Linked DNA regions of Homo sapiens: regions 2, 3, 4, 5, 6 and 7 are each linked to region 1. Evidence: promoter capture Hi-C in 16 types of primary human blood cells and fetal thymus (Javierre and others, 2016). All regions are on one chromosome and are shown on one strand. The core of a region is centred on a gene start or on the middle of the fragment in contact, and the rest is flanking DNA. Distances in the headings are between cores, read along the strand shown. Region 1 holds the start of CCDC59 (coiled-coil domain containing 59). Region 2 overlaps NUP37 (nucleoporin 37). Region 3 holds the start of UTP20 (UTP20 small subunit processome component). Region 4 overlaps SCYL2 (SCY1 like pseudokinase 2). Region 5 overlaps ACTR6 (actin related protein 6). Region 6 overlaps BLTP3B (bridge-like lipid transfer protein family member 3B). Region 7 has its middle 2.9 kb from the start of SLC25A3.

Region 1 (3,094 bases), core at 181-2,680:
ACTTTGGGAAGTCTAGAAGGAAAGTAAAAATCCCAGAAGCCTGTTGGTGTCCATCATTCTACTTCCAAAATATGCTTGCCTGAGAAGAATCTACATTTCTTGAGGGTAGGAAAAGCTTGAGCCTACAAAAATTCAAGACACATATTAGGTACTTTAAAATAGTTTTTAAATGAAATAGTGACTATCCGAATACCATCCTAGTCCAAGATACAATCATCTGTTGTACTACTGAGGTAGTCTCCTAACTGGCCTCTCAGCTTCAGCTTTTGCCCTAGTCTATTCTTCAAATAATTCACAGTTATCTTTTCAAATGTGAATTAGGTCACTATGTTGCCTAAATAATCCCAAGGGTTTCCGTCACACTTAAAATCCAAAATCCTTCCAAGGCCTAGAAAGGCCTGTGCCATCTGGCCTCTGCTTGCCTCCCGTCCTGCACCTGCAGCCCCTCACCTGGCTAGAGCCAAGCCTAGCCTGCGGTTCCCACCGCCTGCAACCCCTCCCTGTGGCTCTGCAGCTAGTGCCTTCTCATGTTCCTGACCTCCTAAATTGAGGCAGCCTCCTTACACAATCCCTACCACATTACACTGTTTTTATTTTCTACTTCATTACCACCACTTGAAATTATCTTTATTAACTGTTGAGTAATCTTCCACCACATGCTGGCATTTATAAAACCTGTGAGAGCACTGCTCCCCTAGTTTCCCTAGCGTCAATTATTATGGAATTACTAGATGAAGGAACTCCCCTGCCCTGTTTCCTGCTTTCTTTAAATTGTGGACATACACAAGCACCCAAAGAAAGAGTGATCCTGATTCCAAAGAACATCCCCACCCCACCCCTCAACTAATCCGACCCCTCCTCGGTTTCCCAGCGGGCCGCCCCGCCTCCGCCGCCACGCACCTGGTTCTGCTGGCTTCCACCAGGGGGCTCGCTTCGTCTGCCGGGACCTTCTCCTCCGCCTCCCTTCCCGCCCCGCCTACCCCACCACCCACCTGCTTCCCACTCTGCTTCCACTAGGGGGCGCGTCTCTGAGGGCAGGGCCTCCGTCTCCGACGCTGACTTCCTCAGCGCAGCCAGCACTGTCTCCGGTGGCAAGTCGACCAGCTCCTCCCACACGGATTCTGTGTAGAAATCCACGGTATGTGCATTGGAAATGGACAGGGCATCCCTCAGGAACTGCAGCAGTCCCTGCAACTTGGCACGCAGCGTGGGCAGGTCCGGGGTCACCGGGAGAGGGCAAGAAGCCGCCATGACGCTCACCCTCCGAGGCTGTAGGTGGCGCAAACATGGCCGTGAGGCGCCAGCTCGGCCCAAATTAGCACAGGCAGGCTCAGTAGAGCTCCGAGCCGGATTCCTTCTGAGCGATTGATTGCTTCGGCTTGGTGACGTATTTTGTGGGCGTCCGTCGTGGTCTTCTGATGACGCAGTTAGTCGGCTGCAATGGCGCCGGTGAGGCGGTCCGCGAAGTGGCGGCCTGGTGGTATTGAGGCGCGTGGTGAAGGGGTTTCCACTGTCGGGTACAGGAATAAGAATGTGAGACAGAAGACATGGCGGCCTAACCACCCGCAAGCCTTCGTGGGGAGCGTTCGCGAGGGTATGTAAGAAGGCAACCATTTGCAAATCCTCAGGCTTGCTAAGTTTTAGGATATAAGATTCGCTGAAGCTTGGAAGAAGGATTTAGGAACCAGACCCGGTCCTACTTGGGGCAAGGGAATTCATTCCTGAGCCCGCTAAAGCTGTGAGCTTCGCAGAGCTCTAGATAGGAAGACGGAGCAGTGTTGCTATTATTTAAACGTCTTTTCTGACGTAACCCTGTATTTCATCAGAACTTTTTTCCTATATTTTTCCTGAGAAACTGAGCAGAGAGAGTCTATGACCCTGTGAACTCTTGCGCATGTGGTAAGGTAAAGGATAGAGAGGAGGACAGGGCCAGAAACACTGCTCCGAATTCTTCCTTATTACAAATACCCGAGGCCCTCCAGCCTTCGCTTTAATTTGTGTTTGTCATTTTGTATTGCTGTCTGTAAGGTCTCTTAGATCCCACTTGGAATATATAAATGTTAAATTCAGTCTTCCGATAATTGCTAGCTTTTCAGACAACCATACACTGTCTTTTTCTTTCGTGTTGAAACATTTTCGAAAACATGTAGTTTGTCCAAGATACTAGATGTGGCATTTTCTTTCCTATTTTTTAAGCATTTATTGAAGGCTCAGATTAAGTGTTTTAGATGAACTAAGGAATTTGTTTTGATTTGTGAATACAGCTGTAAACTCAAGTTGTGCAACAGTCTGAACTGGTCAGTTTTTCTTTGAGATTCTTACTTGGATTTCCGCATGACTGTTAGCCTGGTCTTTTTGCAAAGGGCCAACTTACTATGCAATCCATCAGCTTAAATTTGTTGCTTGAAATAATTTTTTAAAGCAAAATATAATACTAGAATCTGAATGTGATGACGTAAAAAAAGTTTTCATTTGTAATTAACAGCTCCATTCTTCGTTCAACTTCTTTTCTCTGAAAGTAATTTTGGATGATATTCCTCAATGTAGGACAAGGCTTTGCTTTTCGAAGAAAACTGAAAATACAGCAAAGTTACAAGAAATTGCTACGGAAGGAAAAGAAGGCTCAAACGTCACTGGAATCTCAATTCACAGATCGATACCCAGATAATCTGAAACATCTCTATTTAGCTGAAGAGGAAAGACATAGGAAGCAAGCAAGAAAAGTCGACCATCCTTTGTCAGAACAAGTTCACCAGCCGTTGCTTGAAGAACAGTGTAGCATTGACGAGCCTTTATTTGAAGATCAGTGTAGCTTTGACCAGCCTCAGCCAGAAGAACAATGTATTAAAACAGTAAAGTATGTATTTTCTTCATTTGAAATCCTTTAAGTGTTGTTTTATTATTTAAAAGTACTATAGGATAATTTATATAGGAATTGTATTTTTTCTTATTTAACACATTTTAGAAGTCACGGTTTAATTAGGGAAACATTTTCATGGAGGCTCTATTTTTAGCTTCAATAACTGAATTAGGCTGGTTTAGCCTAATTGACAAAGTAACGTAATGGGAATTAAGAGCTCTGGAATTTGGGTTT
Region 2 (3,094 bases), core at 225-2,724, about 20 Mb before region 1:
GATAGGAATCATTATTTTGTGGAGTTGCTGTAAAGATTAAATAAAGGTGAATGAAAATACCTAGTATGTGTCTGTCACGTGGTTCAGAGATGTATAGAAATTATTTATTTCAGAGATGAGTAGGTCTTATTTTTGAGGTTTTAGAGATTTATGTTTAATGCCAGTAAATATTTTTTACTCCAGTTTTCTATTCTTAAGGTGTCTTAAAATAATTGTAGAATCAAGAACATTATATTTTTAAGAGATAGGAGAATGTTCCAGGTAATTAAAAGAAAGAATTCAGTGAAATTTTATAACCATGTAGATGTTTGGGTTCAACTTTTACATGCTTTAAAGTACAGATGAAAAATTTTATAGCAATTTCCTAGTCAATTTTTTAATACAGTTAAATATTATAACCAAATGATATAAATTGTTTTGTTTACCCCTTCATAAGAAGATTTTGAACTAACAAAGGAAAAAGCAAAGAGCAAGGAATTTTGACATGGTTCTCTTTAAGAATCTCTGTGATGGGGCAAGGATTCCTAAAAGCATCAGGATAGCCAAAGGGCTATCAATAGTGACTCTTACAAGAATTTGTCATTTCAGGATATGTCCAAGAAATATAAAAATCATCTCTAAGGCTAGTGTGTTCAAAAATTGTTGTCATATACTTAGAAAAATTGATGCATGAAGTGGGTGGGTTTTATTTAGGGATGGAAATTAAGGAGATGATTATGTTGGGCTTGGGTATATAAGAAATGGATTCTCTGGAATAAGGGCTTAACCAAAATATAAAAGTTGTCTGATGAAATTACCCAGTAGGGCTGGGCGCAGTGGCTCATGCCTGTAATCCCAACACTTCGGGAGGCCGAGGTGGGCGGATCACTTGAGGTCAGGAGTTCAAAACCAGCCTGGCCAACATGTTGAAAACCCACCTCTACTAAAAATACAAAAACAAAATTAGCAGGACGTGATGGCACGTGCCTATGATCCCAGCTACTTGGGAGGCTGAGCCATGAGAATCGCTTGAACCCTGGAGGCAGAGGTGGTGGTGAGCCAAGATTACACCACTGCACTTTAGCCTGGGTGACAGAGCAAGACTCCATCTCAAAAAAAAAAAAAAAATACCCAATAGAACTTCTATCTTTTAGTAGGGGAAGCTGTTTTGGGAAAAGATAACTCATGATGATTGTATACTGTTATGCCAAAAAGAGGCAGGAAGTGTTATCCTCAGAAGAAAATAGTGATTCCATTTGTGGATTAATATAGTGACTGTAAGATAAGACATTCTCAAGAAATGAGAGGGTTGCCTTTACCTGTTAGTTTCAGGAGTGAAATGTACTTTATCCTATGTAAGCATTGAGAACTCTAACCTCTTTTTCTTTTTTTAGATCTTAAAAGTAGGCTACAGGACCATGTTCCAACTTATACTTTGTTGTTAAACTTTATTGTGTTTAATTATTTTAAAATCGTATAATGTTGTTTTTTTCTTAGTAAACTTTGTTCTTCGAAATATGTTTATATTACACTAAGACAGGAGGAAGTATTTATGAGGAATTAGTTATTGGTCATCACTTCTAATTCCTGATGATAATATGAGATATTTCACATTGTGTGTATGTCCCAGTTTTAGTTTTTCCATGTTTGTTTATAAATATGTCTAAGATGGTTTTTCTTCTGTTGAAATTTAAGTTTTCCTCAGGATTGCTTCACTTAAAACATCAAAGAGAAAAAAGTTGTACTTATGTTCTAAAACTTGTATTATTTAGGACTATTGAAGCAAACAAAAGTCAGGATATCACAAATCTGCAAGATGTCAGAGCTAAATCCTACATTTTCAGAATGATGATGGGATCATAAGTCCCATTTCATTTTTATGATTTGGCTTCTACGTTATGAATATTTCAATATCTCTCCCATGCCAAAACACAAAATCACACACCCATGCACTCCAATTTGTTTCTTACTTTGGTAATTTGTGACTACATATTGACACTGACCTAGAAATGTTTCTGTTGCTGTTTTAAATCTCATGTCAGTGGAGAAGAAATTGAAATCTGGTTTGCACATTTGTGTCTGGTTTTCTGTAATTGTCTAAAATCTGACATTGTCCCAGAAACGCTGATTGGGAAGTTATGAGGCAGTATTGTGCCCAAGACTGATTTTAATAGTTTTTAGGAGAGAAAAAGTTCTCACTCTACACTATTTTCCATGTTTTTCTATACCTCAAAAAGTTAAACTCAGTTTAACCCAACTTTATACCATACAAGTAATAATAGCCTTAGCTCTGAGCCTAAATAAAATTTGCCAAATAAAAATGATAATTATGATCCATTTCCACATACTCCTCATGAGAGCTTGGTCAAGTCCTCAGAAGCAGCATTGTGTTCCAATATATCTTTATCAAACAGTGTGCTCAGCAACAAGGACAGGAGAGAACACTCAGTTTCTTTAATTTTAACACCTTGTTGATTCAAAAACATTTAACAGGCATTTGAAAAGAATTTCAAAACAATTAACATTTGTTTCTAATACATTTAAAAAATAATGCCTTTTAAAATGTGGGTAGAACTTTTTTTATTAACATGGCTTTAATTTATAGCAACCATTTGTTACCTAATCACAGTAACACAACAAAATAATTAGTGTATCAGCTTTGAAGATCTCATTTCACAAAAGCTAAAAAACACGTTATGATATATCCATTACTCAAACTCATAAGCCCTTTTGCATGCATTGGGCATAGATTTCATGGAAAATCAAAAGCATTTAGTCTACTTTCTGACATTTTCATCTGTTCTTTGAACTACCTTAATAAAAAAAAATTGTTGCCCTTATGTAGGGTCAAGTGACGTTTGTCTGTCTGAAAATTTCCTTGGATCAGCTTATTTCTGTGTAACTTATGTCTTTGTTATACAGCTATTTGCCTTTTTAACTGATTTTTAACAGGATACTTTACCTTGGGACTTGTAACACTTAATGTAAGCTTATAAAATCCACATGAACAATAGTAAGTAATGGGGAGACTACCAGGTTTCTCAGCCTTTACAAACAATTTGATTTAAAGATTTATGAAATACTGATTTCTACCAACTGCATTTATAATGCTGTA
Region 3 (3,094 bases), core at 402-2,901, about 19 Mb before region 1:
GTGGCCCGCGACGGCCTCGGGAGTGTCGAAGGGATGCAACCGACAGTAAGGAGGGGAAAGCGGCTCACAGGCTATACTCTCCGATTCCCAGATGCCCAGACTTTCTCACGTGCGGCTTGAGCCCCTGGGCGCCGCCATGTTGGAGACAAGGAGGAGCCTGAGTGGGTCACGTGGACGGAAAAAAGAACGGCGCAGGCGCACCCTTTGGTGGGGTGGGGCCTACAGGAGGCGGGGCTGCGCACATAAGGGCGGGCGTTTGGGTGAGGTGTTCTTTTCACTCCCTTCGGTAAAGGTTTAGAAGACAAATGTATTTTCATTATAAAATAAAACATACCTGTAATCGTTATCAACTAACATTACTGTCCCTCACTACGTACCTGCATCGTGCAAAGATCCTTTCATCCATAATTTCACAGTAAAGCTTATTAGGGATGTTAATACAAAGGAGGTACTGCGTCTATCTATATATCTATATATAGATATATACTTTTTTTTTTTTTTTTTTGAGACGGAGTCTCACTCTGTCTCCCAGGCTGGAGGGCAGTGGCGCGATCTCGGCTCACTACAATCTCCGCCTCCCGGGTTCAAGCAGTTCTCCTGCCTCAGCGTCCAAAGTAGCTGGGACTACAGGCACCCGCCGCCACGCCCGGCTAATTCTTTTGTATTTTAGTAGAGACGGGGTTTCACCTTGTTGCCCAGGCTGGTCGCGAACTCCTGAGCTCAGGCAATCCGCCCGCCTCGGTTTTCCAAAGTGCTGGGATTACAGGTGTGAGCCACCGCGCCTGGCCGGTACTGTGTATATTTTTAAGCCAATTTGACACAAGAGGAAACCAAGGTTGTGCAGCTGGTAACTGGCAGTCTTCACTCAGACTCTAAATTTTGGTATTCTTAACCACTACGCTGTAAATAAAATTGAAAAATAGAGAAGGAGTTTTAAGAAAAATCTTTTAATTTCATGCACAACCGCTGTTAATGTTTGGTGTTTTTCCCATCACTTTAATGTCTACACATAGCATGTTGTTAAATTGTACAGTTATATATACATATATGTACAATTTTAAAAAATAATTTAAAAATATAATTATTTACCCCATTTTACATTCATTCATTCATTCAGCAACTATTTCTTGAGAGTCCTCTGTGGACCAGGTACTGTTCTGGGAGCCAAACGAGAAAGGCAATAATAGTATTAATTAATTATTTGAAAATATTCACAGCCTTCAATTCCTGGGCTAAAGTGAGCCTCCCACCTCAGCCTCCCAAGTAGCTAGGGCTACAGGCATGCACCACCACACCCAGCTCTTTTATTATTATTATTATTATTATTATTATTATTATTATTATTTGTAGAGATGGGATCTTGCTATATTGCCCAGGCTGGTATCAAACTTCTGGACTCAAGCAGTCCTCTTGGCTTGGCCTCCCAAAGTGCTGGGATTACAGGGGTGAGCCACCATGCCCAGACTGGAAATACTTGGTCTGAGATGCTTACATTTTAGTCAAGGAGTGATGTTAAGTAGACAATTGGATATATTGTTGTACAGAGCTCACTGTAGCAGTCTGGGCTGCAGACGTGACTTAAATACACCTAAATACCTCAAGTGTGAGGCATTTGCGACTGGGAAAGAGAGCCAGTAAGGTAGAAACAGACTAGTTATGGCATGGAAGCAGAGCTGGTGGCCAACTATACTGCAAATTCGAGGATAGAGAAGTGGTTGCTGGATCTGACAAGGTGAAGGTCACTGGTGACCTTGCTAAGTACAGTCTAGTTGGAAGAAAGGAAGTGAAATATGCATGGATTGAGGAGGTAATCAGAGTTGAGAAAGTGAACATAACACTTTCAAATTGTTATTGGCATTATCACATCAACATTTTCTGTGTCACCACAGGGTTGTTCTAAATATTTTAATGCCTCCATAGCATTTATAGATTTTTTTATAATAAAATATTGACGTGCCTAATGTTCCATTGGCTTTCAGTAGGCTAATAATTGGTCTTTTTTTTTTAAAAGCCTTTTATGGGTCACAGGGAAATCTAAGAAAGCTGTAGAACTTCTCCCAGAAAGATGCAAAGAAGCTCATCCACACTAAAATGTGCACGTTTCAGAGAGTTAGAAGCCTGCAGTTAACTGAGGGTAGAAGCCCCCACTCAAAGCAATATTTTCCCAACCTGTTGCCAAAATCACCCCCACATCATTGTGCCATTTTCCTTCTCTGCAATTTATTTTTGGTAATGGAGTTAACTGGACAATAAGGAGTGAAGAGAAAAATCAAAGAAACTGAAAGAACTGACACAAGTTATATTGACCATTTATTGTTTGCATTGTTCTTCATTACATGACCCTCACACACTGACTTGACTCTGACTGGCTTAACAATATGTCAATAGAACATGGTGGTTGAGAGCATAGATGCTGGAACCAGGTTGTCTGGAGGTAATCCTGGTTCTGCCATTTATTAGTAGGGTCAGTTACCCTTTCAGAATGACATTTCCGTATATGTAAATGAAGCTAACAAAAGTAGCTACCTCACGGGTGGTGATTATGCAGAGTAAATAAGCTAATGGATAAAAGATGCTTAGAATGTGCCAGACACCATAATTGCGCAAGCTCAGAAATTACTTAACCTTTCTGAGACCCAATTTCCTCATCTATAAAATAGAGATGACAATAATACCAGTCTTTCAAGATACTGTGTTGGTGCATAGAGCATGAAATAAATGTTTGCTAAGTGGATAAATAAATGACCATTTATTCTCTACTACCTGGCTACCTGACAAGTTCCTTAAGGGCTGACACCTTATACTTTTTCAACTTTGTGTCATCAGTTCCCTTGAACATAAGAGTTGTTTAATGAATGTCTGTTGAATTAACAAAGCTTATAATACTTACATTGACCCGGACAAATTTAAGAGTAATATAGTTCCAGCATTGGATGTGAATTGCACCACATGATTTTTGGTATCTCTCAAAACTAAGTTTCTAAGCTTTAATGGAATACCGAAAGCATCCGTGAAGAGCACGAGTGTTTCTTATAAACATTTCCTTGCTTCCAGCGTTTGTCCTCTGTCAAGGTATAGGATGAATATCCTATAC
Region 4 (3,094 bases), core at 208-2,707, about 18 Mb before region 1:
ACTTTTCAGGGAATACATGGGCATAGACAGTTTTAAGGTAGCAGTTCCTAATCTGGAGTCAGGTAAAGACTTCAAAGAGAATTAGAGGTATTATTAGGCCCCCATACTAGGTTTTATTATTGAATGCATTAAACATATATAAAACCATTTTGTAGTTATGAAAATGTTATTACAATTATTTCAAAACAATTTTTTCTATACATTTTATTTCATACATTTAAAAATATTACTCTAAGTAAATAAATGAATAAATAACTTCTGCCCATGAGGGAGGAACAAAGAGTGAATCTGCCCTCTTGCTTTTAACAACTAGAAAACTGAACAAAATGTATTAAACACATTTTTTCAGACATTGAACAGGCAGCAAGAGCCTTTGACCCCAGTAAGAAAGAGAACAAGAGAACCAGGATTGCCCCAGAGGCACATTCCAAACTACAGAGCATAGAGCAGAATTCCAAGTAGCTATCTAGCTGAATTGAGAAGCTGGAGGGACAAACTGGCATTCAAGAATGCGGAGGTAGATGAAAGTTCTGAGATACAATTTCAAAGTGAATGAAGCTATGCTGAAGAAAATGCAAACTGGTCCCCTTCATGCTCTGTTCCCTGGTCCCACACATGCTTATGCATAGTGTGACACTCCACCAGGTCTGGCAAGAACCAAACTAGAGAGCTATCAGTTGAATAGTTTCAAAGTTCACACAAGGCTGCAAATCATTTGATATCTCATCAGCCAGAGTAGTGAGTCTTCACTGACCACTAAGACAATCAGCAGAAACCTGTAAGAACCATGCCTTAATAGTGGGGTAAGCCACCCTTAGAGTAAAAGCTAATCTAAATCCACTCTAAAATCAATTATCAAATGACCAAAGTAATCATAAATTACTAAACAGCCTACCAGAACAAAACCCAATAGTCATGAAAGACACATAACATGCACAAAAAAATTCAGATACTAAACAATGTAACATTCACAATATTCAGCAGGCAATCAACAACTATCAGACATGCCAAGAAGCAAGACGATGTGACTTATACAACAGTAGACCCCAACCCCTAGGCCGCCAGATCAGTACCAGTCCACGGCCTATTAGGAACCGGGCTGCAGAGCAGGAGGTGAGCGGTAGGCGAGCAAGCATTACTGCCTAAGCTCCGCCTCCTCTCAGATAGGTGGCAGCAATAGATTCTCAAAGGAGCCTGAACCCTACTGTGAACTGCACATGCAAGGGACCTAGGTTGTGTGCTCCTTATGAGAATCTAACTAATGCCTGATGATCTGAGGTAGAAGAGTTTCACCCTGAAACCAAGCCTCCCATCCCCCATCTGTGGAAAAACTGTCTTCCACGAATCCGGTCCCTGGTGCCAAAAAGGTTGGGGACTGCTGCTATACAAAGCTCCAAGAAATTAAATAAACCACACACAGGATAAACACAAAGAAACCCATACATAGATATACCAAATAGCTGAAAATCAGTGATTAAAAGAAAAATCTTAAAAGCAGCCACAGAAAACAAGTAAATTACATATAAGAACAAAGATAAGAATTTCCTCAGACTGGCCAGGCGCGGTGGCTCACGCCTGTAATCCCAGCACTTTGGGAGGCTGAGGTAGGCAGATCACAAGGTCAAAAGATGGAGACCATCCTGGCAAACATGGAGAAACCCCATCTCTACTAAAAATACAAAAATTAACTGGGCATGGTGGTACGCGCCTGTAGTCCCAGCTACTCAGGAGGCTGAGGCAGAAGAATTGCTTGAACCCGGGAGGTGAAGGTTGCAGTAAGCCGAGATCACGCCACTGCACTCCAGCTTGGCGAGGGAGCAAGACTCCATCTCAAAAAAAAAAAAAAAAAAGAATTTCCCCAAATTTGGCAGAAACAACACATGCCAAAGAACAACTGAATGAGGTCTTTAAACTGCTAAACGAAACTGTCAGCCTAGAATTCTACAGGTTGGGGAAAAAACTTTCAAAACTCAATGTGAAATAAAGACATCTTCAGAAAAACAACAGATAATCACTATAAAAACTATTAGAGATGGGAGGATCACTTGAGCCCAGCAGTTCGAGATGAGCCTAGGCAACACAGTAAGACCCCATCTCTACAAAAAATAGAAAAATTATCCAGGTATGGTGTCATCTGACTGTAGTCTCATCTACTCAGGAGGCTGAGGCAGAAGAATCAATTGAGACCAGGAGGTGGAGGCTGCAGTGAGTTGTGATTGCACCACTGCACTCCAGCCCGGGTGACAGAACAAGACCCTCTCTCTAAAACAAAACAAAACAAAACAAAAAAAACTTAAAGTTTTTAAACCAGAATAATAAAAATAAAAAATGATGTGGGTATATAAAATACTTTTCACGTCATAATACCTTTAAAAGATAGCTGATCATTTAAAGCAAAAATAATAAAAATGTATTGTGTTTATAATATATGCAGAAGAAACTGTAACAAGAAAGAACAGGAGGGGAAATATAAGTATATTTTTTAAAGATCCTTACATTATATTTGAGGCAGTACAGTATCATTTGAAGGCAGGTTGTGGTATTTAAAGTTAAAAGATATATACTGTAGACCCTCAAATAATAACAAAATAAAAATAACAACAAAATAATAAAGTGATATAACTAAATTGTAGAGATAAAATTTAGTTAGTAAAAAAAACCCTAAAGTAAACTGAATATAAAAAGAAGCGGAAAAGAGGAAGGAACAAAAAACAAATGTGGCAAATACAAAATAAATAGCAAGATGGTTGACTTAAATCCAACCATATCAATAAATTACATTAAGTGTAAATAATTTAAAATTTCAATTACAAGGCAGAGATTATCAAATTGGATAAAAAAGCAAGACCTAACTATATGCTGCTTACAAAAACCCACTTTAAAAGTATAAAAACACAGGTAAAAGAATGTGAAAGTATACCAAGCTGGAGTGGCAATATTAATAACAGAATAAGCTTGAAGACAAAGAAGTCATTTTGTAATGACAAAGTTGTCAATTCACCAAAAAGACATAACAATACTAAATCTGTACACACCCAATAAGAGAACTTCGAAATAAATGCAGCAAAAAGTGGCAGAACTGACAGAAGAAATA
Region 5 (3,094 bases), core at 333-2,832, about 18 Mb before region 1:
GGTACACAGTGATGTTTTGCTGGGAGCTGTGGCTACGCCTGTAATCCCAGCACTTTGGAAGGCTGAGGCAGGAGGACAGCTTAAACCCACGAGTTTAAGGCCAGCTTGGGCAACATAGTGAGAACCTGTTTCTACAAAAAAATACAAAAATTAGCCAGGTGTGGTAGCACATGCCTGTGGTCCCAGCTACTTGGGAGGCTGAGGCAGGATAATTTCTTGAGCCAAGGAGTTGAGGATGCAGTGAGTAATGAACAAACCACTGCACTCCAGCCTGGGTGACAAAGACCCTGTCTCAAAATCAAAAAGAAACCCACACAGTGCATCAGATCAGGATAACTAGAATATTCATCATCTTCAACACTTATCCATTTTTGTGTATTGGTAACACTCAATATCCTCCTTCTAGTTATCTGAGACTGTAACATTCTTGCCAAGCTCAGGGGCGCGAAGTGCAGGTCAGTAATCCCAGCTACTAAGGGAGGCTGAAATGGGAGATCTTTTGAGCCCAGGAGTTTGAGACCAGCATGGGCAACACTGTGAGACCCTGCCTCAAATAACAATAATAGTAATAATAAAATTGTAAAAAGAAAACAAACAAAAAGAAACTAACATTCTTCAGATAACAAACATATAGCGATGGAAAGCCAATTAGTAGTTGCCAGGGGTCAGCGACACAGTCAGGGAGCAAATACAAAGGAGTAGGGCACATAGGGGAGCAAAGGGATCCTGATGGTATGATACCATCCAAAGTTAATGTAACAAGAAATTGAGATTTAAGAATTCTACTTATGTGTTAAACACAATAAAATTAAAAATAGTAGCATAAGTTATGTTAATGTACAACATTTACAATTTTTTTTTTTTTTTGAGAGAGAGAGAGTCTCACTTTGTCACCCAGGCTGGAGTGAAGTGGCGCGATCTCGGCTCACTGCAACCTCCACCTCCTGGTTCAAATGATTCTCATGCCTCAGCCTCCCGAGTAGCTGGGATTACAGGTGTGTACCACCACACCTGGCTAATTTTTGTATTTTTAGTAGAAGTGGGGTTTCACCAGGTTGCCCAGGCTGGTCTCGAACTCCTGGCCTCAAGTGATGCACCCACCTCGGCCTCCCAATGTGCTGGGATTACAGGCGTGAGTCACAATGACTGGCCTTAAAAGTAAGGAATAATCTTAAATTACTGTAAAAGGTTCCTCCCCAGAGCCCCATCCTCCCAAAGAATCAAAGCTAAGCATCACCTGTAAGATATGATCTCCTTTAGATGATTGGTTAAGAGTTTTCCTCCCACATTTATCCTGCAAGGGGAGAACTCAAATTTAATTATCGCACATATCATTCTGTTTAATCTTTAGAAACAACATGAAAATTAAATACAACTCACCGAATAATTGCTTCTTTTTTCTTTTTACTTCTACAATAAGGAACTATATGTGTAAAGGAATATCCACTATCAACAATGATACAGCATAATTCGGAAGGATTATCTCGGAAATACCTATGTGCACTGAGAGCCCCAGCTATTTAAAAAAAGATAAAAAAGTGAACAAAAATATAACACTAATTTAAAGCAATTAAAAAGGTAGGAAACAAAGACAAGCACCAAGACAAAAATGTTCCCTTTATTACAAGAAAAATGTTAATTTATAATACTATTCATAACTGTCAAAAGATCTTTATTGTGTTTATACTTTAAAACACCACACTTACATGGTAAACATAATAAAAATTTGGTATCCGTTTTTAAAGGTAAATATTCACTCCATAGTTTAAAAGAATTACTACAACAGCAGCTCATTTTTACTGATCATTTATTACATGCCAGACTCTATTCTAAAATCTGTATAATGAGTGTGTGTGTTAATACTCAAAACAATTCCATTTTACAGATAAGGAACCTGAAGCTCAGAGAAGTAAAGTAATGTGCTCAAAGCCACACAGTTAGGAAGTACCAGAGCCAGGATTCAAACCTAGGCAGTAGGTTGAGACCTCAGAACTATTGACATTGGGGGTTGGATAACTCCTTGTTGTAGAGGGCTTTCCTATGCGTTGTAGGATGTTTAACAGCATCTTGGCCTCTACCCATGAGATGCCAGTAGCACCTTCCCGGTGGTAATGATCATGGCACACTGCAACCTCCACCTCCCGGGCTCAAGTGATCCTCTTGCCTCAGCCTCTCCAGTAGCTGGGACTGTACACATGCACCACCATGCCTGGTTAATTTTTTAATTTTCTTTTGTAGAGATGGAGTCTCACTATGTTGACCATCTAGCCTAAAGTGGTCCTGCTGCCTTGGCCTCCCAAAGTTCTGGGATTACAGGCATGAGCCACTACACCTGGTTGAGATTGTGCCCTTAACCACTGCCCATACTGCTGCTTATATGGACTTAAATTCTGAAAGTTAAATATTTAAATACTTTCATTGTACCCAACCATGTCATGTAATCTAAGCCTGTAATACACTTGCTTCTAGATGATATTTACAGATTGTTCTCCCTCACACTGGCAGCCTGAGCTACTAACATTATTTCAAACAATAAGAATTCGGCCTGGAGCCGTGGCTTATGCCAATAATCCCAGCACTATGGGAGGCCAAGGCGGGAAGATGACTTCAGTCCAGGAGTTCGAGACCAGCCTAGGCAACAAAATGAGACCCTGTCTCTACAAAAAATAAATAAATCAGCCAGATGTGGCAGCACATACCTGTGGTCCCAGCTACTTGGGAGGCTGAGGCGGGAGGATCCCTTGAGCCCAGGAGGTGGAGGCTACAGTGAGCCATGTTTGTGCCACCACACTCTAGCCTGGGCAACAGAGCAAGACCCTGACTTAACAAAAACAAACAAACAAACAATAATAATTGCAAACACATAAATGACAGGAAAGATAACTACCTCAGAATCTTTCAGAAATAAGAAATATGTGGCCAGTAACTTCATTAGAAGAAATATTAGTAAAAAGATAAAATGAGAGATGTCTGACTATATAATCTCTAAGGGTCCATTTAGTTTTAAGATTCCAAAACTTGCGCAGTGGCTCATGCCTGTAATCCCAGCATTTTGGGAGGGCAAGGCGGGTGGATCACTTGAGATCAGGAGTTC
Region 6 (3,094 bases), core at 282-2,781, about 18 Mb before region 1:
GTTGAGATAGTGATAGTCAGGTTCTAGGTGTATTTTGAAGGTAAAGGCAGGATTGACCGACAGGTAAGATGTGGATTGATAGAGAAGAGAGGAGAGCAGTAATGGGTGACCATCCAGAGTTTTTGACATAAGCAACATAAGCAATGGAAAAGGTGGAATTGCTATTAACTAAATCGGAAAATTGGAGAAGACTGCAGGAGGAGCAGGCTTATGGGAGAAGATCAGGAGTTTGTTTTGGATATGTTAAGTTGGATGAAAGTTCGATTTTTTTTTTTTTTTGAGACAGAGTCTCGTTCTGTTGCCCAGGCTGGAGTGCAGTGGCACAATCTCAGCTCACTGCAACCCCTGCCTTCTGGGTTCAAGTGATTCTCCTGCCTCAGCCTCCCGAGTGGCTGGAATTACAGGCAGCCGCCACCATGTTTGGCTAATTTTTTTTTACATTTTTTATTTTTAGTAGAGATGAGGTTTTATCATGTTGGCCAGGCTGGTCTCAAACTCCTGACCTCAAGTGATCCACCTGCCTCAGCTTCCCAAAGTGCTTGGGATTACAGGCCTGAGCCACTGCGCCCAGCCCAAATGTTAGATATTTAATTGGAGATGTCTTCTCTTTTATTTGTGATCTAATTTAGACTATACATGTTTTAGTCTGACAACAATGGAAGTATGTTTGTGGTTATCCTTTGGCTTATGCAATAAACAATTACTGGGAAGCGAATTGTGAGTTGAATTTTCAGGGGTGGATTTTTTGCTATTGTTGTTTTTTTTTATCCTTTTAAGTACATGCACTACAGTAGTCCTCCTCCATGGGCAGCACACTTCAAGACCCCCAGTGGATGCCTGAAACTGCAGATAGTACTGAACGATATGTATATTGTGTTTTTTTCTTTATGTACATCCCTCTGGTAAAGTTTAATTTATAAATTAGTCATGGTCAGAGATTAACAAAAACTAATATGTAATAGAAAAATTGTAACAATATCTGTATATTGTAATAAAAGTTATATGAATGTGATCTCTCTCTTTCTCAAGCTATCGTACTGTACCACAGGTAACTGAGACCGTGGAAAGGGAAATCTTGGGTAAGGGAGGACTACTGTATATAGCAGGTGTCTTTCTCTTTCATATTAATTTCCAACTAAAACCGGATACTGATTCTTGTTGGGTGCTTGGTCTAGGAGATGTTGCAATATTAGCATACTAGAATCCTGGAATCAGAAGGGATTTGTTCCTATCTCAGAGAAGGAAATTATTAAAACATTGACATTTGTGACTTGTCCAAGGTCTCACAGATAGTGTTGAATGGTAAAGTCACTGATCCAGTACCCTTTTCATTGATTTTTCTGTGCTGCCTATTAAGGTGTTTCCTACTCGCCCCCACCCCACCTCAACAGTTTGCTTTTCTTTTTACCCAGTTTTCAACACTACTCTTGTTTTACCATCCTGCTGTAGTATCCCTTAGGAGATTCTTTTATGACTTGAGAATCATTTGACTCTGCGGTCCTTTGAAGTTAGAGGAACATAATGTTTTGACTCAGCATTTCTTGAAAGTTGGGGGATGTCTCAGGCCATTTTATGTTGCTATAAAAGATTATGGGGCTGGGTAATTTATTTTAAAAGACAGGTTTTATTTGTTTATTTATTTATTTATTTTTTTGAGACACAGTCTCACTCTGTTACCCAGGCTGGAGTGCAGTGGTGTGATCTCGGCTCACTGCAAGCTCCGCCTCCCGGGTTCATGCCATTCTCCTGCCTCAGCCTCCCGAGTAGCTGGGACTACAGGCACCCACCACCACCCCCAGCTAAATTTTTTTATTTTTGTAGAGACAGGGTTTCACCGTGTTAGCCAGGATGGTCTCCATCTCCTGACCTCGTGATCTGCCTGCCTTGGCCTCTGAAAGTGCTGGGATTACAGATGTGAGCCACCACGCCCGGCCTATTTATTTATTTTTGAGACAGAGTTTACTCTGTTGCTCAGGCTGGAGAATAGTGGCACAATCTCAGCTCACTGTAACCTCCACCTCTCAGGCTTAAGCAATTCTTATGCCTCAGCCTCCGGAGTAGCTGGGATTACAGTCATGTGCCACCACGCCTGGCTAATTTTTGTATTTTTAGTAGAGATGGGGTTTCACCGTGTTGGCTAGGCTGGTCTCAAGACTCCTGGCCTCAAGTGATCCACCTGCCTTGGCCTCCCAAAGTGCTGGGATTACAGGCGTGAGTCACCACACCCGGCCAAAAAATAGGTTTATTTATAAAGAAAAGAGGTTTATTTAGCTCGTGGTTCTACTGGCTGAGAAGTTCAAGGGCATGGTGCTGGCTTCCAGATAGGGCTTTTATGCTGCATGACAACATAGTGGAGAAGGTAAGGGGAAGTGGACACTTAAAGAGGGCAGAGCCTGAGGGATGTCTTGGCTTTATAACAACCTACGCACGTGAGAACTACTTTATTTTCTGTGAGAACTTACTACTGCAAGAACAATACCAAGCCATTTATGAAGAATCTGCCCCCATGACCCAAACACTTCCTACCTACTAGGCGCCACCTCCCAACACTGTCACATTCGGGATCAGATTTCAACATGAATTTTGGTGGGGACAAATAAACCATATTGAGACTCTAGCGGGAAAACATAATGTCTTTTTTTCTTTTCTTTTTTTGAATAATTTTCCTTTTTTGCAGTATTACACTTTGCTTTAGTACTGCAGTTTAAACACTTTTTAAATAAGTTGATCTCTTATCAATTACATGTGTTTTAAATTCTGCATATTGTATGCTTAGGACAAATAATTTTTTTAACAGTGGGTGTGGCTGGGCACGGTGGTTCACGCCTGTAATCCCAGCACTTTGGGAGGCCAAGGCGGGTAGATCACCTGAGGTCAGGAGTTCGAGACCAGCCTGGCCAATATGGTGAAACCCCATCTCTACTTAAAAATACAAAAAATTAGCCGGGCATGGTGGCGCATGCCTGTAGTCCCAGCTACTCAAGAGGCTGAGGCAGGAGAATTGCTTGAGCCCAGGAGGCGGAGGTTGCAGTGAGCTGAGATTGTGCCCCTGGACTCCAGCCTGGGCAACAGTGAGACTCCACCTCAAAAACAA
Region 7 (3,094 bases), core at 307-2,806, about 16 Mb before region 1:
AAGATGTTACCTAAAAAAAGTTAGCATTGGCCGGGCGAGGTGGCTCACGCCTGTAATCCCAGCACTTTGGGAGGCCGAGGCGGGCAGATCACGGGGTCAGGAGATCGAGACCATCCTGGCTAACACGGTGAAACCCCGTCTCTACTAAAAATACAAAAAATTAGCCGGGCGAGGTGGCGGGCGCCTGTAGTCCCAGCTACTGAGGAGACTGAGGCAGGAGAATGGCGTGAACCCAGGAGGCAGAGCTTGCAGTGAGCCGAGATCATGCCACTGCACTCCAGCCTGGGCGACAGAGCAAGACTCCGTCTCAAAAAAAAAAAAAAACAAAAAAACAAAAGTTAGCATTGAGGCTGCGGCATCACGGCACTCTCTAAGCAACCCTATCCCAGACCCAGCCCTTCTGGCCCAACTAAAGTCCTACAGTCCCAGGAAGAATTCCAGAGTGGAGGGCACAGGAAGGGAAGTAGTGACAGATAAAGTTAAAAAAGTACACTAGCACCTGATTGTCCAGGGCCTCACATACCAGACTGAGGAGTCTGATCTTATGTAGACAGAGGTAGTCACTGAAGGGTCTGGACTTTCTCTCTCTCTTTTTTGGTTAATTCAACTTTATGGTGCTTTTCTAATTTAAAAATCCTTTGTCATGAAAAAGTCAAATATTATGTAAAAATATATGACTGTAGTGAATCTTCCTATTCCCTTCCCCCAGCACCGGGTAATACCGTGACCCTTTGCTGCACATTTTTTCAGCTGGAACAGCTGGTACCCTTCACCATGGGGCTGCACATGCTCGTGGCCCAGAACTCACAGAAGTTGATCTAGAAGATACAGTGGTAACTGAAGGAGCTGCAGGCCCAGCTCCTACCCCATGTGGGAGCTGGTGACCTTCAGAATGTAATGACTGTTGCTCCACTTCTGCCTTCCAAACTGCACACATTTCTCTTATAGCTAGCCCTAACCCAAAACTATGCAGGGAAAGGAATCTAGGAAATGTGGTTCTAGCCTAGCTAAGTTGACATGGTAAAAAAAACACCACTGGGCTTTGCAGGCACCGCTGCTGCCAGGAGCCCTGTGCTATCAGCCATGGTCAACCCCACCGTGTTCTTTGACACGGAGCCCTTGGGCCGCATCTCCTTTGAGCTGTTTGCAGACAAGTTTCCAAAGACAGCAGGAAACTTTCATGCTCTGAGCACTGGAGAGAAAGGATTTGGCTATAAGGGTTCCTGCTTTCACAGAATTGTTCCAGGGTTTATGTGTCAGGGTGGAGACTTCACATGCCATGATGGCACTGGTGGCAAGTCCATCTACAGGGAGAAATTTGATGACAAGAACTTCATCCGGAAGCATACAGTTTCTGGCATCTTGTCCATGGCAAATGCTGGACCCAACGCAAACAGTTCCCAGTTTTTCATCTGTGCTGCCAAGACTGAGTGGTTGGATGGCAAGCATGTGGTCTTCAGCAAGGTGAAAGAAGGCATGAATATTGTGGAGACCATGGAGTGCTTTGGGTCCAGGAATGGCAAGACCAGTAAGAAGATCACCATTGCTGACTGTGGGCAACTCTAATAAGTTTGACTTGTGTTTTATCTTAACCACCAGACCATTCCTTCTGTAGCTCAGGAGAGCACCCTCCACCCCATTTGCTCGCAGTATCCTAGAATCTTTGTGCTCTCACTGCAGTTCCCTTTGGGTTCTATGTTTTCCTTGTTCCTTTCCATGCCTAGCTAGATTGCAGAGTTAAGTTTATGATTATGAAATAAAAACTAATTAACAACAGCAACAAAAAAAGTACCAGAGTCTATCGGTTGTCAACATGGCATCAATGAACACCTCTTGTAATCATATTTAACTTCCAGACAAAAACTAAAGAGCAAAATCAGACTTCTACCTAACATGAAGCAGCTGTCCCTTGGACAATTGTGAACAAGCTAATTCTACCCAAAAGAGGATACAAAATCCTTTTATCCGTCTTTAGGTGATGTTATTGCAGCAGGTATGGACTAAGACAAGGGGGTTGGCCTCCTTAACATTCAAGAGGCTCTCGGCCTCCAACCTGACACAAGTAGGGAAATTGCCTGAAGGACCATAACTCTCCACTGTGGAGATTCAAATCTGCCTCCCGGGTTCAAGCAATTCTCCTGCCTCAGCCTCCGGAGTAGCTGGGATTACAGGCACGCGCCACCATGCCCGGCTAATTTTGTATTTTTAGTAGAGATGGGGTTTCTCCATGTTGGTCAGTCTGGTCTCGAACTCCCAACCTCAGGTGATCCACCTGCCTCGGCCTCCCAAAGTGGACAGTAGGTTTTAAGAAGAATCAGCAGATCCCGCCAGGCAACCACCTCAGGTGAGGCCATTACAGATTTCACAGGGACGAGGAACATAACCTCCTCAGACAGGAGAGGAAGGGCTTCTTTGACTGACAAGGAGGCTCAACAGAATTTAGGGGTTCTGGCTGGGCATGGTGGCTCACGCCTATAATCCCAGAACTTTGGGAAGCCGAGGTAGGTGGATCTCTTGAGTCCAGGAGTTAAAAACCAGCCTGGACAACATGGTGAAACCCTGTCTCTTAAAAAAAAAAAAAAAAAAAAGCCAGGCATAGTGGCATGCCCCTGCAGTCCCAGCTACGCAAGAGGCTGAGGAGGGAGGATCACTTGAGCCTGGGAAGCAGAGGTAGCAGTGAGCCGAGATCGCGCCATTGTACTCCAGCCTAAGCAACAGTTAGAGATCTTGTCTCAAAAAAGAAAAAAAAAAAGAATATGGGGGTTCATGGTCCTAGTGGAATCATAATCTGCCCAGGTGTCACTATTCCAAAATTTTGGGTCTCAAAACATTGCCCTAACTTTAAACACTATGAGATTGGGAATTCAATTTGCATTGTAATTCAGAATTAGATTTTGAGTTTGATTTTTAGAAAGTACAGTCTTGCAGATACAGCAAAGCAGTCAAGGCGACCAGGTGCGGTGGCTCATGCCTGTAATCTCAGCACTTTGGGAGGCCAAGGTGGACGATCACAAGGTCAGGAGTTCAAGACCAGCCTGGCCAAGACGGTGAAACCCTGTCTCTACTAAAAATACAAAAATTAGCTGGGCGTGGT

The links. Contacts are between HindIII fragments. The CHiCAGO score rates a contact against its expected background, and 5 or more counts as called.
Region 2: a fragment that was not itself captured here is called in contact with the fragment with the promoter of CCDC59 in region 1 in 1 of 17 cell types (activated CD4 T cells); the score reaches 9.0 in activated CD4 T cells.
Region 3: a fragment that was not itself captured here is called in contact with the fragment with the promoter of CCDC59 in region 1 in 4 of 17 cell types (non-activated CD4 T cells, naive B cells, naive CD4 T cells and 1 more); the score reaches 10.1 in non-activated CD4 T cells.
Region 4: a contact is called between a fragment that was not itself captured here and the fragment with the promoter of CCDC59 in region 1, in 1 of 17 cell types (total CD4 T cells). The highest score is 6.1, in total CD4 T cells.
Region 5: a fragment that was not itself captured here is called in contact with the fragment with the promoter of CCDC59 in region 1 in 5 of 17 cell types (total CD8 T cells, total CD4 T cells, total B cells and 2 more); the score reaches 13.8 in total CD8 T cells.
Region 6: a contact is called between a fragment that was not itself captured here and the fragment with the promoter of CCDC59 in region 1, in 1 of 17 cell types (non-activated CD4 T cells). The highest score is 6.9, in non-activated CD4 T cells.
Region 7: a fragment that was not itself captured here is called in contact with the fragment with the promoter of CCDC59 in region 1 in 2 of 17 cell types (total CD4 T cells and naive CD4 T cells); the score reaches 8.9 in total CD4 T cells.

Annotation. Positions count from the first base shown.
Region 1 is chr12:82,356,723-82,359,816 of GRCh38, reverse strand. CCDC59 (coiled-coil domain containing 59) reads left to right here and starts at 1,430. Exons shown (of 4, transcript NM_014167.5): 1 at 1,430-1,594; 2 at 2,548-2,857. The coding sequence starts at 1,441. METTL25 (methyltransferase like 25) reads right to left here and starts at 1,288. Exons shown (of 12, transcript NM_032230.3): 1 at 993-1,288. The coding sequence starts at 1,251. RefSeq lists enhancers at 500-1,060, 991-1,550, 1,061-1,621. The HindIII fragment of the contact is 1,548 bases long and covers 118-1,665 here.
Region 2 is chr12:102,070,068-102,073,161 of GRCh38, reverse strand. It overlaps NUP37 (nucleoporin 37), which reads left to right. Exons shown (of 10, transcript NM_024057.4): 10 at 1-59. Among named protein-coding and RNA genes, the nearest start is that of WASHC3, 9.6 kb to the right of the region's middle. The HindIII fragment of the contact is 2,992 bases long and covers 1-2,970 here.
Region 3 is chr12:101,277,174-101,280,267 of GRCh38, reverse strand. UTP20 (UTP20 small subunit processome component) reads right to left here and starts at 163. Exons shown (of 62, transcript NM_014503.3): 1 at 1-163. RefSeq lists enhancers at 90-139, 1-464. The HindIII fragment of the contact is 2,455 bases long and covers 424-2,878 here.
Region 4 is chr12:100,277,387-100,280,480 of GRCh38, reverse strand. All of the region lies in intron 1 of SCYL2 (SCY1 like pseudokinase 2), which reads right to left. It also overlaps a transcript of DEPDC4 not described here. Among named protein-coding and RNA genes, the nearest start is that of SCYL2, 12 kb to the right of the region's middle. The HindIII fragment of the contact is 2,998 bases long and covers 1-2,956 here.
Region 5 is chr12:100,208,495-100,211,588 of GRCh38, reverse strand. ACTR6 (actin related protein 6) reads right to left here. Exons shown (of 11, transcript NM_022496.5): 5 at 1,381-1,516; 6 at 1,238-1,294. Among named protein-coding and RNA genes, the nearest start is that of ACTR6, 9.2 kb to the right of the region's middle. The HindIII fragment of the contact is 3,656 bases long and covers 1-3,094 here.
Region 6 is chr12:100,131,802-100,134,895 of GRCh38, reverse strand. All of the region lies in intron 1 of BLTP3B (bridge-like lipid transfer protein family member 3B), which reads left to right. Among named protein-coding and RNA genes, the nearest start is that of BLTP3B, 9.5 kb to the left of the region's middle. The HindIII fragment of the contact is 6,169 bases long and covers 1-3,094 here.
Region 7 is chr12:98,589,195-98,592,288 of GRCh38, reverse strand. It overlaps the pseudogene PPIAP8. Among named protein-coding and RNA genes, the nearest start is that of SLC25A3, 2.9 kb to the left of the region's middle. The HindIII fragment of the contact is 4,505 bases long and covers 1-3,094 here.